Linked DNA regions of Homo sapiens: region 1 is linked to region 2. Evidence: promoter capture Hi-C in 16 types of primary human blood cells and fetal thymus (Javierre and others, 2016). All regions are on one chromosome and are shown on one strand. The core of a region is centred on a gene start or on the middle of the fragment in contact, and the rest is flanking DNA. Distances in the headings are between cores, read along the strand shown.

Region 1 (7,263 bases), core at 4,154-6,653, 260 kb after region 2:
TAATGGTTCTACTGTGCTGAATTTAAGTGAATTAAGTGAAACTCAATTTACCTCAGGCTAGCAGTTACCAGGATGTAGTGGAAAGAGTGTGGGCTTTGCAACTAGATATAATTGGATTCAAATGATAGTGAAGTGGTCCAAGGTAAATCACTTAATTGTACTACAGTTTCTACAAATGTAAAATGAGGGTTCAGAATATCTACTTTGCAGGGTGGCTTTAAAGATTGAGATTATATTTGTGATGCACCTAGCATAGAGCTCAACATATAACAGGTGCTCAAAAAATGGTAGTACTTGTTGTTACTAGCCTAAACAGCCCTAGACAGTTCTCTCTCTCCTCCATTTTTGCAGTCACTTCTTGCTGTTATTAGTGAGAATAGTTTCTTTTCTTGTCACAGCTCTCTAATTTACTGCTTCTAATATTCTATGCAGGAAGACACCAGAAAAATTATTTTCATTGTAGTGCATGGGATACAAGTGCATGCCATTCAAGGTGTGGTCTGTGGACTGGTAGCATGGGCATCAATACCACCTGTGGGATTGTTGGGACTTCACATTCTCAGGCTCCACCCTAGATCTACTGATACAGAATGTATGAGAGAGGGGCCCAGGAATCAGTGTCAACAGCTCTCCAGGTGATTCTTTTGCAGGTTAAAATTTGAGACCATGAACACAGAGTAAACAGGCATTAAATGAACTGCTTTAGAGCATAGACTCTGTGGCAATAAAATAGCTCCATAGCTCAGAATCTTTTTCTAGTTATTTCTGGATTTGGGCTAGAGGGCTAAAGTTGCCAAAAGATTCTCTTCAAAAGATCTGGAAAAAATGGGGGTATGATTGTATTTGAAAATGTTTCAACATGACAGATGATTTAAAAAACAAATATGTCCTGTAAAATTCCAAATAAAACTAATTCAAAAAGGCCAGGTGCAGTGGCTTGAGCCTGTAATCTCAGCACTTTGGGAGGCAGAGGTGGGTGGCTCACTTGAGCCCAAGAGTTCAAGACCAGCCTGGGCAAAAAGGCAAAACCCTATCTCATTTATTTAAAAAAAATTTTTTTTAAAAAGAAAAGGAAAACTAATAAAAACATAGCCTTAAAATATTATTATAAAAGAGCATAAAAAGTGCTAGAGAATAACTGAAACACTTTGGCAGGAAAACAAAACTAGAGACTAATACCTATATATCTAGTTCTATCTATCTCTATTACCATCTCACCTGCAGTATTTAATAATTAGGATTGAAGCTAAAGACAAGACTAGGTTGGACTGACAATAAGAGCAATGTCCCAGTATGGAAAAGGACAGTAGTCAGGAAAGGAAAAGATGTATGGTCAGTTTGCAACTAGAAAACCTGCACCTATTCTTTTCTTCTATAAAGTAGCGATGAGACTCTGTTAAGAGTCAATTAGGAAGATAGAAAAGTACTGTAGGCTTAAAGACTTGAATACACTTACTATGGAAATAGAAGAGGGTATTGATTCTGAACATACCTAAAAATTACAGGGCAGCCTTTAAAGCTCTGCTACAACTTTCAGCAGTATGACAATGGTTAGACTGAGGCGAGGTTAGCATTTTTCAGTTCAAGAATACCAATAGGCTAAGGGGACAAGGAAACTGAGATACTTTCCAACTGAGTAACTGCTGAAGTTATTGGCTAATGTGACCTAGGCTGGATAGGGAAAGCGAGACAAGGGGAACTTTGGAGTGTGATTAAAAAAAAAACAAAAAAAAACCAGAAAGATGGGAGGCTGTCAATTAGAGAGGATGAATGCATCCCCTTTGCCTTTTTTCAGCATGTCAGAACTCCCCCAAAGGATTCTGTTTCTCTGGTTGGCTGGAGGGCTAATGATACAGAAAGATTCTGTTCAAATGAGAACACGTGGACACAGGAAGGGGAACATCACACACCAGGGCCTGTTGTCGGGTGGGGGGAGGGGGGAGGGATAGCATTAGGAGATATGCCTAATGCTAAATGACGAGTTAATGGGTGCAGCACACCAACATGGCATATGTATACATATGTAACAAACCGGCACATTGTGCACATGTATCCTAAAACTTAAAGTGTAATTATAAAAAAAAAAGATTCTGTTCAAAAGACTTGGAAAAGAAATGGAGCCATGATTGTACAGTATTTGAAAATGTTTCAGAGTGATGCATGTGATTGAAAAACAGATCATATGGATAGAACAAAGCGGGATATTGTAGTTTCACAGGTGCTTGAAAGCATTCTTGATGATGATAAAGTCCAAGACAGATGCATGCAGAGCGGTAAGACAAAGTAGAGAAAAGGTACCCTGAGTCAAAAAATGTGAAGCTGGAGTATTGGGTGGCCATTTATCTGGCAAGTGAAGTTGTCCAGAATGATGGTTTTAGGTAGACAGAAGAGAATAAAAGTTTTTAAAAAGCTTCTGAAGAAAATGGTAAAATAAATCAGAAGCTTGATGAAAGACAAATGACTATGATAAGAGAAGTCAGAGAATGCCAGAACAAGATAGCATGAGCCTCATCCATTTTCTCAATGCTCTTGAGGACCTGTGCTGGGTGTCTCTTGTTAGATTGAATGAGGTTGTACTACATATACTTCTAAAATATGTACAATTTAATTATCTAAGAATATTCAGAACTAAAATGAGAAGGTCATACTTCCATTATTGCTATTTTTACCTTCATATGGTGAAGCAGTAAAACCAGATGGGCTTATTACCATAAATCCAGGGCTCATAAGGGACCTTCCTCCACTGCTGGAATGCCTCAGGTACATGATTGACCGCACTTTCTCCTGAAAGATCTTGCCATCTAGAATCCAAATTTTTTTTGAAACAGCAAAATTTTTAAAAAGGATAAAACGAAAATATAACTTTAAAAGCAGATCATTAAATTCAAATTTTGACAAAAAGATGTTTAAAGAGAAAAATATATAGCATACTTTATATTAAGGCACACGATATGTGAATACTTACTCTTCACAATTTTTTAGTACAGATTTTGCTGTTGTTTATTATTTCTGGCCACATTAACTTCTATTTTCTTAATTCCAACTGTACTTATAGTTATTTCTATGGTTTAACATTTAACTATTCACTTTTATATGTTATTATCATCTCTCAAGGGAGATTGTTCATCCTTGAGGAAAGGACTGTGTCTTTTATTTTTATATATCCCCTTCAGTGTCTAATATTTGTAAAAACTAATCATTTCTGAGCTTCATACTTATAAATTCAACTGCTTGGTTTCTTAAACAAATCACAAATGCAACAAATCTAAATCCGAATCATCTTTTTGCCCTAAATTTACTCCTTCTGTTTTGTTCTTTGGGAAGTTCCCATGTGGTAACCTGGAGCTACCCTTGACCACTACCTTTCCTTTATCCATGGCAAATCAGTCACCAGGTTCTACTGACTTTTTCCCTTTTTTTGAGACAGTCTTGCTCTGTCGCCCAGGCTGGAGTATGGTGGTGTGATCTTTGCTCACTGCAACCTCTGCCTCCCTGGTTCAAGCAATTCTCATGCCTCAGCCTCCCGAGTAGCTGGGATTACAGGCATGTGCCACCACGCCCAGCAACTTTTTTTTTCTTTTTTTTTTAAGGAGAGACGAGGTTTCGCTATGTTGACCAGGCTGGAGTTGAACTCCTGGCCTCAAGTGATCCACCCACCTTGGCCTCTCAAAGTGCTGGGATTACAGCATGAACCACCATGCCTAGCATGACTTCATTTTTTGTTTCTTGACCTCTTCTCTTCCCTACCATAGTGCTATAATGCAGGCTTTATCATCTCTCAACTGGGTTACTATCACAGATTTCTAAATGGTATCCTTGATGAGCATCTCATTACTCTCAAATCCTCACAGCTACCAGAATTCGCTCTCTCTCGAATGTCAACTCCTGCTTAAAACCTTCCAGTGGCTTTCTATGCCTCCTTACCACCTTGGATAAAACCCAAGCTTCTTGTCCACAAGAATTACCACTATTTGTCCCTAGGTCCCTCCCAAGCCTTGTTTCATAAATTACATTTCAGCAACACCACTTTCTCCTAGTTCCCTGTCAAGCTGTTTCCTTTACCTGGAAGGCCCTTTTCTCTTTGATTCTTACTCATCCTTTAAGATTCAGGGCAGGCATCACTTCCTCTGGGAAATCCCCCTCAGTCTTCATATGCTCTATGCTACCAGAAAACAAAAATGTTGACTGCCTTATCACTGTGCTTTCCACGTGGCATGATATAATCGTTTCTTTATCCTCTTTCCCTCAACTAGGCTGTAAACGTCTTAAGAGAGGGGACCATATTTTACCCATCTTTGTAACTAACCCACTCTCAGAATCTTTATCCACAGTCCTTTTTCCATGAAATGTGCTAAGCCTACCACAAAGTCATGCTATCTAATTTCATTTGGACATTTACTGCTGCTTATTTTATTCATTTACTACATTTCTTTTTTTTTCTTTTCTTTTTTTTTTTTTTTTTTTTTGAGATGGAGGTTTGCTCTTGTCACCCAGGCTGGAGTGCAATGGCACATTCTCACCTAACTGCAACCACCGCTTCCCGGGTTCAAGCCATTCTCCTGCCTCAGCCTCCCAAGTAGCTGGGATTACAGGCATGTGCCACCATGCCAGGCTAATTTTTTTTTTATTTTTAGTAGAGATGGGGTTTTGCCATGTTGGTCAGGCAGGTCTTGAACTCCTGACCTCAGGTAATCTGCCTGCCCCGGCTTCCCAAAGTGCTGGGATTACAGGCGTGAGCCACCGTGCCTGGCCCCATTTACTACATCTCTTAAAATGGCTATTGTACAACCAGTTTTCCAATGTAAATTTATGACTCAGCTTTCTTGTAGGTACATTCTTGCTTTCTTTCTTACATTACATTTCCCTGGTTCTTAAAAAAAACTGATTATTCCATCTTTCTCTTTTACTGATTCTTCATTCTTGTCCTACCCTCCAACTAGTAATACTACCAGCAGTTCTTTCCTTAGCTTTCTCTTTCCTTCTCTTGCTCTACTTTTCTTCAGTGGTCTCATCTGTTCTCAGAGCTTCACCTCACTTCTATGTGGACAGCTCCTTATAACCTACCCTTCCTTCTTCATGCTGTAACCCTCATTCCCAATTGCCTACTAGAAAATTATATTATAAATAACTGCAGGGCACCTCAAATACAACATATATTATACAACCAAAGCCATTATCCTTTTTCCTTAACACCTCCAGAGTCATTCCATCCTAAACTTCCCACTTCTCAATTTATCCCTCCTTTCCAGTTCCACTGTTACTATGCCCAGATTCTGTTATCCTGTCTCTCACGGACTACTATAATTGGCCTTACTGCCCCTAGTTCCTTATTCCTGAATTCTACTGCAATAATTTACTTATAGCCTTTGCTCAAAACAAACAAATAAAACCCTTTCAATGACCTATAACTAGAATACAAGTTCGAATTCTCTGGCCTTACATTCAAGGACCCATTTGATATGACTTTAGGGTAAAAATAAGTAAATGGTGGTCTTAAACTGTATTTATGGCATTATTTCTCACTATTCCTTTACAGATCCCCTATATATAGGTAAAACTCATTAGTCCTTATTTTCTATTTCCTTTTATCCTCCCTTTAAAGTCATTGTCTTTACCTGGAACACTAACTCTCCAATCTACCTATCAAATTCTACTCAAAATCTTCAATGTCTACATCAGATGTCATGTAACCTATTAAATATTCTCTCCACAGTGGTCGGATGAAACCCTCTGTCCACTGAAATCTCATTAGTTCTTCTTTTGTGTCTCTTTGATACTTACCAAATACACATTTTTTTTTTTTACTGTAGTTATTTGAGTCTATGTCTCCTTTCTCCACTTGGCATTTAGACTCCTTGAGGACAGAGGCCATGTCTAGTTCATTCTATAACTCTCTGCCCTATCCCAACCCCAATATGTAATTAGAGCAGCACAGAGGCCATTCAAATGTCAAACAAATGTGAATCAAGTGGGAAGAATAAAACAAAAGTGGAAATAGCCATGATCTAACAAAAATGATTATACCTACCTATGTGCAAAGAAAAGTAGAAGTTCGTGGGATTGTGACAAACGTAAGTATTAGTAGGAGGGTGAACTGCTAAAAGGAAATTGAAGATAATTGTCAATAATTCCAAATCTGGAGGAGATCCAAGGACTTCTGCTATAATTTTCACAAATGATCTACAAACCTCTCGGGGCATGGGTGTGAGTTGCCCCTCTTTGTATTCCTGAAAAAATAAAAAAAACTCTCTTTAGATTTAAAGAATTGTCAACTTAACTAAGATTTTTCATTTAGGCAAAATATTCTTTTTAAGATAGAATTCTGTTGGTTTACTACTCTAGTCTGATCATACTTACCATTACCATAACAACTCATTAAATTGAGTTATTTCCTAATTCAAGCAATCTTGTTATTAAAAATTCATTAACACAGATGGCAACTTAATTCTAGCCCATGTATCTTAATTAACTGAGGCAAACTTATATAACTCTCACAAGCGTGGTCTCAAAAGCCAGACTTCCTAGGTTTGCATTCTGGTTTCTCCACTCACTAGCCATGTGATCTTAGGTAAGTTACTTAACATCTGCATGCTTCACTTTCTTTGTCTATGTGAGTAATACTAGTGCTACTTTATAGGGTTGTTATAAGGACTAAATAACATAAACTCTTAGAATAGTGCCTTGCATATAGGTAAGCCCCATATAAATGTTAGTGATAAACTACAATCACTACTATTACTACTGCTACTATCTTTTCTTCTCCTTTTACTACTACTACTATTAGTAATATTAGTATAGGATTAGGACAGAAAACTTTTGATGGACAAAACTCGTTATACTAATACAATATGCTCCAGTTTACAAAGCTTTTTTTCACAACAGCTCTATGAGAGGTTTTAGCCCTCATTTCTAGAATATGAGGCACAAAGAGGTTATTTGACTAGTGTAAACCACACATAAAATATGTAGGTAGTACAATTATAACTCAAACTCAGGCCTCTGAACTCTTTCTACTGCACCATTTACTGTCTGGAATAATGAGGCTTGGCAAAATGCCAACTAATTACTAAAAATAAAGCTGTATATAAATAAATTGCTTATATCCTCCAATTCCATCTCCCCAGTGGGTAGCAGCTGGCCTCCAGATTAAGGGTATGGGAGGTAAAATTCCTCATCTTCCCTCTTCATATGTCCAAATATATATCTCTACATCCACTCTTCATTTACTCTTGGGTATTACTGAATTGGAGTACTTAAAATGTA
Region 2 (6,677 bases), core at 3,319-5,818:
AAGGTAAGTTAGGTAATTTTTATATAGAAAGGAGGTGGTGGGGGCTAGTTAGAGTAATATGTTTAGGTTTTATGGCTGGCTTTGGGGAAGAGGGATTTTAGTTTCTACAGCTAGCCTCAGGTGAGAATGCAAGGCCAGAGAGAGGACAGCAGCAGCAGGTCAGAGACAGCTGCTTCTGAGGCCTTATTTTGGGGTATTGTTTTCTTCTGAGACCCTACAGTAAGAACTATTTCTTTTCTTAATATGTAATATATCCTGAGAGTCTGGCAACCTGCTCAACCCTGCACTGTGAGTGGACATCCAAAGGTATATTAAAGTCTAAGGGAGGGCCTGGCGCAGTGGCTCATGCCTGTAATCCTAGCACTTTGGGAGGCCGAGGTGAATGAATCGCTTGAGGTCAGGAGTTCGAGACCAGCCTGGCCAACATGGCAAAACGCAGTCTCTACTAATAATACAAAAATTAGCTGGGTGTGGTGGCACACACATGTAACAGAGGCTGAGGCAGGAGAATGGCTTCAACCCGGAGGCAGAGGTTGCAGTTAGTCAAGATGGTGCCACTGCACTCCAGCCTGGGCGACAGAGTGAAACTGTGCCTCAAAATAATAATCAAAAAAGTCTAAAGAAGGTTGACATCAAAATTGATTGCTCAAAATAAGCCCAAGAGTCTTAAAAATCACACCAAAATTCCACTCTGATATGCATGCTCTTGGAAGAGTCACAAATAGATACAAATCTTGAAAATGAAGAAAACATGTGAGCCTGTCACAGATCTAATGATAAAGACAATCATCATACACACTACCAAAGACACCTCCCAAAACACCACACTAGCACAGGCATCAGCGGCCACCAGACTACCACTCCTCTCTCAAACTCATGGAGTGTTTACTATGAAACAGGCACTGTTGCGGGTGTTTCATTAATTGAATCTTCACAATAAGTCTATGAGATCATCATCTTATAAATAAGGAAACTGAAGCACAGAGACACAATTAGCATATAGGGATAATTTTGGAAGAACTCACCCCAGGCAAAATTACAAAGCAAGCTCAATTTGTTTTCTGACCTTCTACTTGCTCTACATCTGTTTCCATTAGATACTGTGAGCACCTTGGGAGAAGGGACTAGGCATCCAGCACAGAATCTAACACTCAAGTACTTGTTGAGTGAATATGCTCCTTTGTTTTGGTTTCTTTCTTTCCAGATACCCTAGAAAGCGAAGCCTTCTTTTGTCACATCATTTTTCTAAATTAACCGTTAAATAATTCCTACTTAAGGCATTACCCAAAACGAGCATTTTGTAATCAAGATATCCTATGTTTAGATTCCTTAGTCCGATGGTTATCTCCACCTGCATTTTCCTCTGTCACCCTCAGGTGTACTGGATTTCACTTCCTCTTTACCAGTTGCTTTCCCTGACTGGTTTAAGGGAACCTATCACATTAAAAAAGTTGCTGACTCTGGTACTAAGGTGACTCACTTACTTCATTCTGGTCCCTGCTCAACTGTTACCTCTTCAGAATGGAATGGACTTCCCTGACCTATTTAAAACCATCTCTTTAATCTCTTAACACTGCTTTATCTTTTTTCCCTATACTTATCACTACCGCTGTGATATTTATAATTATTTCCTGATGCTCTGTCTTCCCTTCTAAATTGTAAACTACATGAGGGCAGGAAGTTTAGCTTGATTACTGCTGTAATTCCACACCTACGATAGGAGCTGGCACAGAGTAGGCTCTCAAATATTTGCTGAATCAACTGCGAGCCAAAGAACCTTTTTTAATATTCAGGGAAGGTAAATCGCTCTTTCAAAAAAAACAAAGAAACTGCCATTACTTAATGAGACTGAAGACAGACAAAGCAGCAGAAGAGAAAAAAAAATACATTTAAAAATGTTAATTCAAGAAAAGAATACTTAGCAAAATCTTGGGTTTTTTTTTCTCCTGTTAGGCTTAAAGTACAAGGGTTAAAATGTAAAAACACCCAACTATTTTAGTTTCAACATGGTGACAGCACAATGGTAAAGGAATTATGGGAAATTTTAGCATTTAAGATGCTTCCACTGCTTTTAGCTTTGAAAGTACCAAAAGGAAAAAAGGAAAGGTAGGAGTCAGTCTTGTTTAATTAATTAATTAATTATTTTGAGATGGACTTTCGCTCTTGTCACCCAGGCTGGAGTGCAGTGGCGCAATCTCGTCTCACTGCAACCTCCGCCTCCGAGGTTCAAGTGATTCTCCTGCCTCAGCCTCCTTAGTAGCTGGGATTACAGGCATGCACCACTATGCCCGGCTAATTTTTGTATTTTTAGTAGAGACGGGGTTTCGCCATGTTGGCCAGGCTGGTCTTGAACTCCTGACCTCAGGTGATCCACCCACCACGGCCTCCCAAAGTGTTGGGATTACAGGCGTGAGGCACCGCGCCGGGCCAGTCATGTTTAACTTAGATTATTAAAATATCGATGGTTGACAGCTGCAGCAAACCACCATGGCACACGTTTACCTATGTAACAAACTTGCACGTCCTGCACACGTATCCCGGAACTTAAAAAAAAATCCCATTTATTATCTGACCAGATACACAGTACTCATTCAAAGCCAAAGTTAATTAACATAACTAGTATTGATCTTCTTACCTACGTTATTACCCTGTTCCTTTCTATGGTCTACTTCTTCATTTCCTTAATCTAGCCTGGTCTAACTACTGGATGGCAGATAAAGGCATCATCCTTCAAGTGCAGTAAGGGAGTAGGAAAAACTTGTCTCAAACTAGAAAACTGCCTAGCAAGTCTACTAAGATTTCAGTTTGAAGTCTACTAACATTTCAGTTTTTGTTTGTTTTACTGAACCCTAAACAACCATTAAGGCCATAAACAGACTTAATGACGCTCTACAAGGAGATTCCAGCAGGGCTCACTCATAACAAAAGAGAGAAACCTGTAACACACAAGCAGCTGTTACAAAGCATTTTTTATATATGGCGTTCTCTTCTTAGTTCACTTCACAAAAACCTAAAAAACACTGAGCAAAACCCTGACCCCATCAACTGGTTAAGTGCATAGCAACACTGTACTTTCATTAAATCACTTAAATAGTGTTTAATTCTATTCAGGTCACACAAATCCTTTTCAAAGAGCTAGTGATCTAATAGGAAAAGAGATTGTTACCAAAATAACCTCAACATAATTTCATATAACTGAGACTGTTTTGAGGATTGCCGAATACTTTCTACTTATAAGGCATAGAGTGCTGAACTGCAAACACTCAATTCTAATTTTAAGAACTTTTGGATTAGAAAACAGCTGTTTTGGGGAGAGATGGTAAGGGAAAAAAGTCCCAGTATAGTTACAAAATTAAGTATTACATAATATTTAAAAGAGCTTTCTAGGTTTCTTTCATGTTCTAGGGCAAGCCCTTAAAGAAGAAGACAAGAGATACAGGGAAAGCTAAAGTAGTGTTCAGGGTGGTGGAACCCACTAACAAAACAATCCGCTGGGCACCGTAAGTAAAGCATTCTATTAGGCTGTGACGCGAAACAAGAACAAAGGTTTCATTCCTACGAGAGATTAAGTTTTAGAGCAAATGGACACGATCGTTAAAGAATTTGATATTTCCATGTAAACTGCATTAGCAGGTTATGCGATCCAAACTCACAGGAACAACTCCAACTCTCGGCCATGCCCTATTTCATGTCTAGATTTGTTTAACCGACTTACATCATAATCCAAGAATACGAACTACAGTATATTCTTACAGCAAAGTTATTCCTTAAAAGCAAAACCGAGCCACCTTTGAAAACACGCACACACATTATCCACGGCACTAAAACCCCAGTCTTGACCGAGAAAGACCAACAACTTGGGGGGGAAGAAAACAACTTCAGAGCCAGAGCTCCCAAAGCAGAAAGCGCTGGCGGCTGAAGGGCACACGAGGTTCCGCTCCCGGGCGAACGGGCGGCGTCGGACATCACTAACCAGGCCTGGGGACAGGCGAAGGACTTGCAACTGCGGGCGCCGGCTCTGCGGGCGTTAAGGGAAACGGGGAAGTGAGAAGAGGCGGGGACACGAAAAGAGAAAAGCTCCCTCAAGTTTGCCCGATGTTAACGCTCCAAGGATGAAAAGAGCCGTTTGTTTCGTCTGGGGACCGTCGCGTTTGGCCCTTCCCCCGCCTCCAACAATTCCCGGCGAAGCCCCGCGGCACCAAGCCGGGCCTCCCACCCCCCCGGCGGCCGCCAACCCGCCCGGCCCCAGGACCTCACCTGCAGGGCCGGCCCCGGAGGCGCAGGCGGGCGGCGGGGAGCGCAGCCGCAGCCAGAGGTGCAGCGCGGCCCCGAGCACACACGGGCACAGCAGCACCAGCCAGTTTCGCATTGGCCGCCCCCGCCGCGAGCCGGGCTCTCCCGCGTCCCGGCGGAGAGGGAGGGGACCTGCAAGTGCGGAGACTGAGGGGCGGCGGCTGACGAGCGACCACTCCGAGCACGCCCGCCCTCGCGCTCGGCGACGTCTGGGGGGCTCCTCGCAGCTCCCGGCCCCGCTCCTCCGGTCCCTCAGACCGCGGGTGGCCGCGGCTTAGCCGGCCGAAGCCCCGCCCCCTCCGCCTGGCCTTCCCACCGGCTCCGCCCACCTTTTCTCCCACTCGCCCCGCCCTCTCCTCCCGCGTTTCCACACGCGCCAGCCAGCCGGCCGGGAGCTGAAGTCCCGCTCTGGGCCCAGGCAGGGGGCGCCCGCGGTTTAGAAACCACATTTCCCATGAGCCTAAGCACGCGCTTCCGTCACTCGGCGGCCGCGGGGGCGAAGGGCGAGGCCCCACACAGAGCATGCGCATCCCCCTTGACGTTTGCTGCCACCCCACGGCCCAGGGGAGGTAGTGCCGGAGACCCGGTGCTCGGAGGCTGCCCGGAGCCGCGAAGGGAAATGCGCTTTGCCTCAGATTTGAAGGAAATCCGAGTGGCTCTTGTGTGAAATCACGCAGAGCTCCTTTGTTCCGCGTGCTCTCTTGCTCGACTGCTGTGGGAGGTGGGATCCTGCTGACGTCTCCTTGGCCCGTAGAGTGGGGCGAGGAAGCCCGAGTGTCCGCGCCTGGAGCGGTGACTCATCAGGGATTAGCTCTGGTGCCGTGGGTTCCCGGCTCTTTGCCCGGTTCTGTGCTCTGGGAACGCAGGGTGACAGACAGCGAGCTGGGGACTAGGCTGTGGAACACGATGATGACGAGCCAATCAGGGTAGAACTGCACGTGCTCCGGGTTCATACTGGAGCTGGGAGCGAAACGGGAGCCGGGCGAGCTGGGAGAACGTGGGCTCCGGGGACCTGGGGAAGGGTGGCCGCAGCGAGCCTTCCAGGGAGAACGCCGGCCCCGCGTCTTGAGGCTTTGCCCCGGGTGGGAGCCCTCCTGGCCCACCAGGCCCGCGCCGAGGCAGCCGGAAAGCGGGGACGGGGCGGTGAAGGCACTGGGGTGAGGATGGGAGAGAAGGATGAGAACGAGCGGCTGGGCTATGGGGCGGTTTTTGTTTCTGCTTTTGTTTTTGAGACGGAGTCTCACTCTGTCACCCAAGCTGTAGTGCAATGGCGCGATCTCGGCTCGCTGCAACCTCCGCCTCCTGGGTTCAAGCGATTCTCCTGCCTCAGCCTCCTGAGTGGCTGGGATTACAGGCGCCCGCCACTGCGCCCAGCTAATTTTTGTATTTTTTTTGTAGAGACGAGGTTTCGCCATGTTGGCCAGGCTGGTCTCCAGCTCCTGACCTCAGGTGATCCGCCCGCCTCGGCCTCCCAAAATGCTTGGATTACAGGCGTGAGCCACCGCGCTCGGCCGCGGTTTTTTTTTTTTTTTTTTTAAGTTTCCACAAGTGTGGAAACAGAAGGTGACTGTATTATTGAAAAAAAGTCTTGGATGACAGAAGACCCAACTCAAACAGGCTTAAGGGAAAAAAGTACTTTGGCTCGCCGTGGCTCATGCGTGTAATCCCAGCACTTTGGGAGGCCGAGGTGGGCGGATCACTTGAGGGCAGGAGTTCGAGACTAGCCTGGGTAACATGGTGAAACCCTGTCTCTACTAAAAATACAAAAATTAGTCTGGCGTAGTGGTGGGCACCTGTAGTCCCAGCTACTCAGGAGGCTGAGGCAGGAGGATCGCTTGAACCCAGGAGGCGGAGGTTGCAGTGAGCCGAGATCGCGCCATTGCACTCCAGCCTGGGTGACAGAACGAGACTCTGTCTCAAAAACAAACAAACAAACAAAAAAAAAATAAAAAGAAAAGGCAAGAAAGTAATAATTGGTTGCCAGAAAAAGTATACTATTTTTATCCTCAGGAAAGGTAGTAAATGGCCTCTGTTGATATTGTAAAATTTTCATTTTGTGAATTAGAATGAGTTATCCTAAAAAGAGGACTAATCCCTCATTTCAGCAGAGCTAGTCATTCGACAAATACTTATTGAGTGTCTATTATGTACCAGACACTTTTGTAGGTACTTTAGATACACCAGTGAACAAAATAAAGATCCCTATCCTGTGTTGATGGGGAGTAGGGCGCAGACTATAGACATAATAAAGAAATATACTCAACCAGCATGTTAGAAGGTTATTCCTGCTCTGGAAAATATAACAATTAGGGCCGGGTAGGGGAATTGTGAGTGTGGGATTGAAATGACACAGATTGCAGTATCAACTAGCAGTATTTAAACAA

The links. Contacts are between HindIII fragments. The CHiCAGO score rates a contact against its expected background, and 5 or more counts as called.
Region 1: a contact is called between a fragment that was not itself captured here and the fragment with the promoter of B3GALNT2 in region 2, in 1 of 17 cell types (megakaryocytes). The highest score is 5.1, in megakaryocytes.

Annotation. Positions count from the first base shown.
Region 1 is chr1:235,760,051-235,767,313 of GRCh38, forward strand. It overlaps LYST (lysosomal trafficking regulator), which reads right to left. Exons shown (of 53, transcript NM_000081.4): 21 at 6,029-6,227; 22 at 2,670-2,801. Among named protein-coding and RNA genes, the nearest start is that of MIR1537, 89 kb to the right of the region's middle. RefSeq lists an enhancer at 4,031-4,150 and a silencer at 4,181-4,260. The HindIII fragment of the contact is 2,922 bases long and covers 3,943-6,864 here.
Region 2 is chr1:235,499,884-235,506,560 of GRCh38, forward strand. It overlaps B3GALNT2 (beta-1,3-N-acetylgalactosaminyltransferase 2), which reads right to left and starts at 4,569. Exons shown (of 12, transcript NM_152490.5): 1 at 4,258-4,569. The coding sequence starts at 4,369. RefSeq lists a silencer at 4,098-4,737 and enhancers at 4,671-5,347, 5,048-5,167. The HindIII fragment of the contact is 19,953 bases long and covers 1-6,677 here.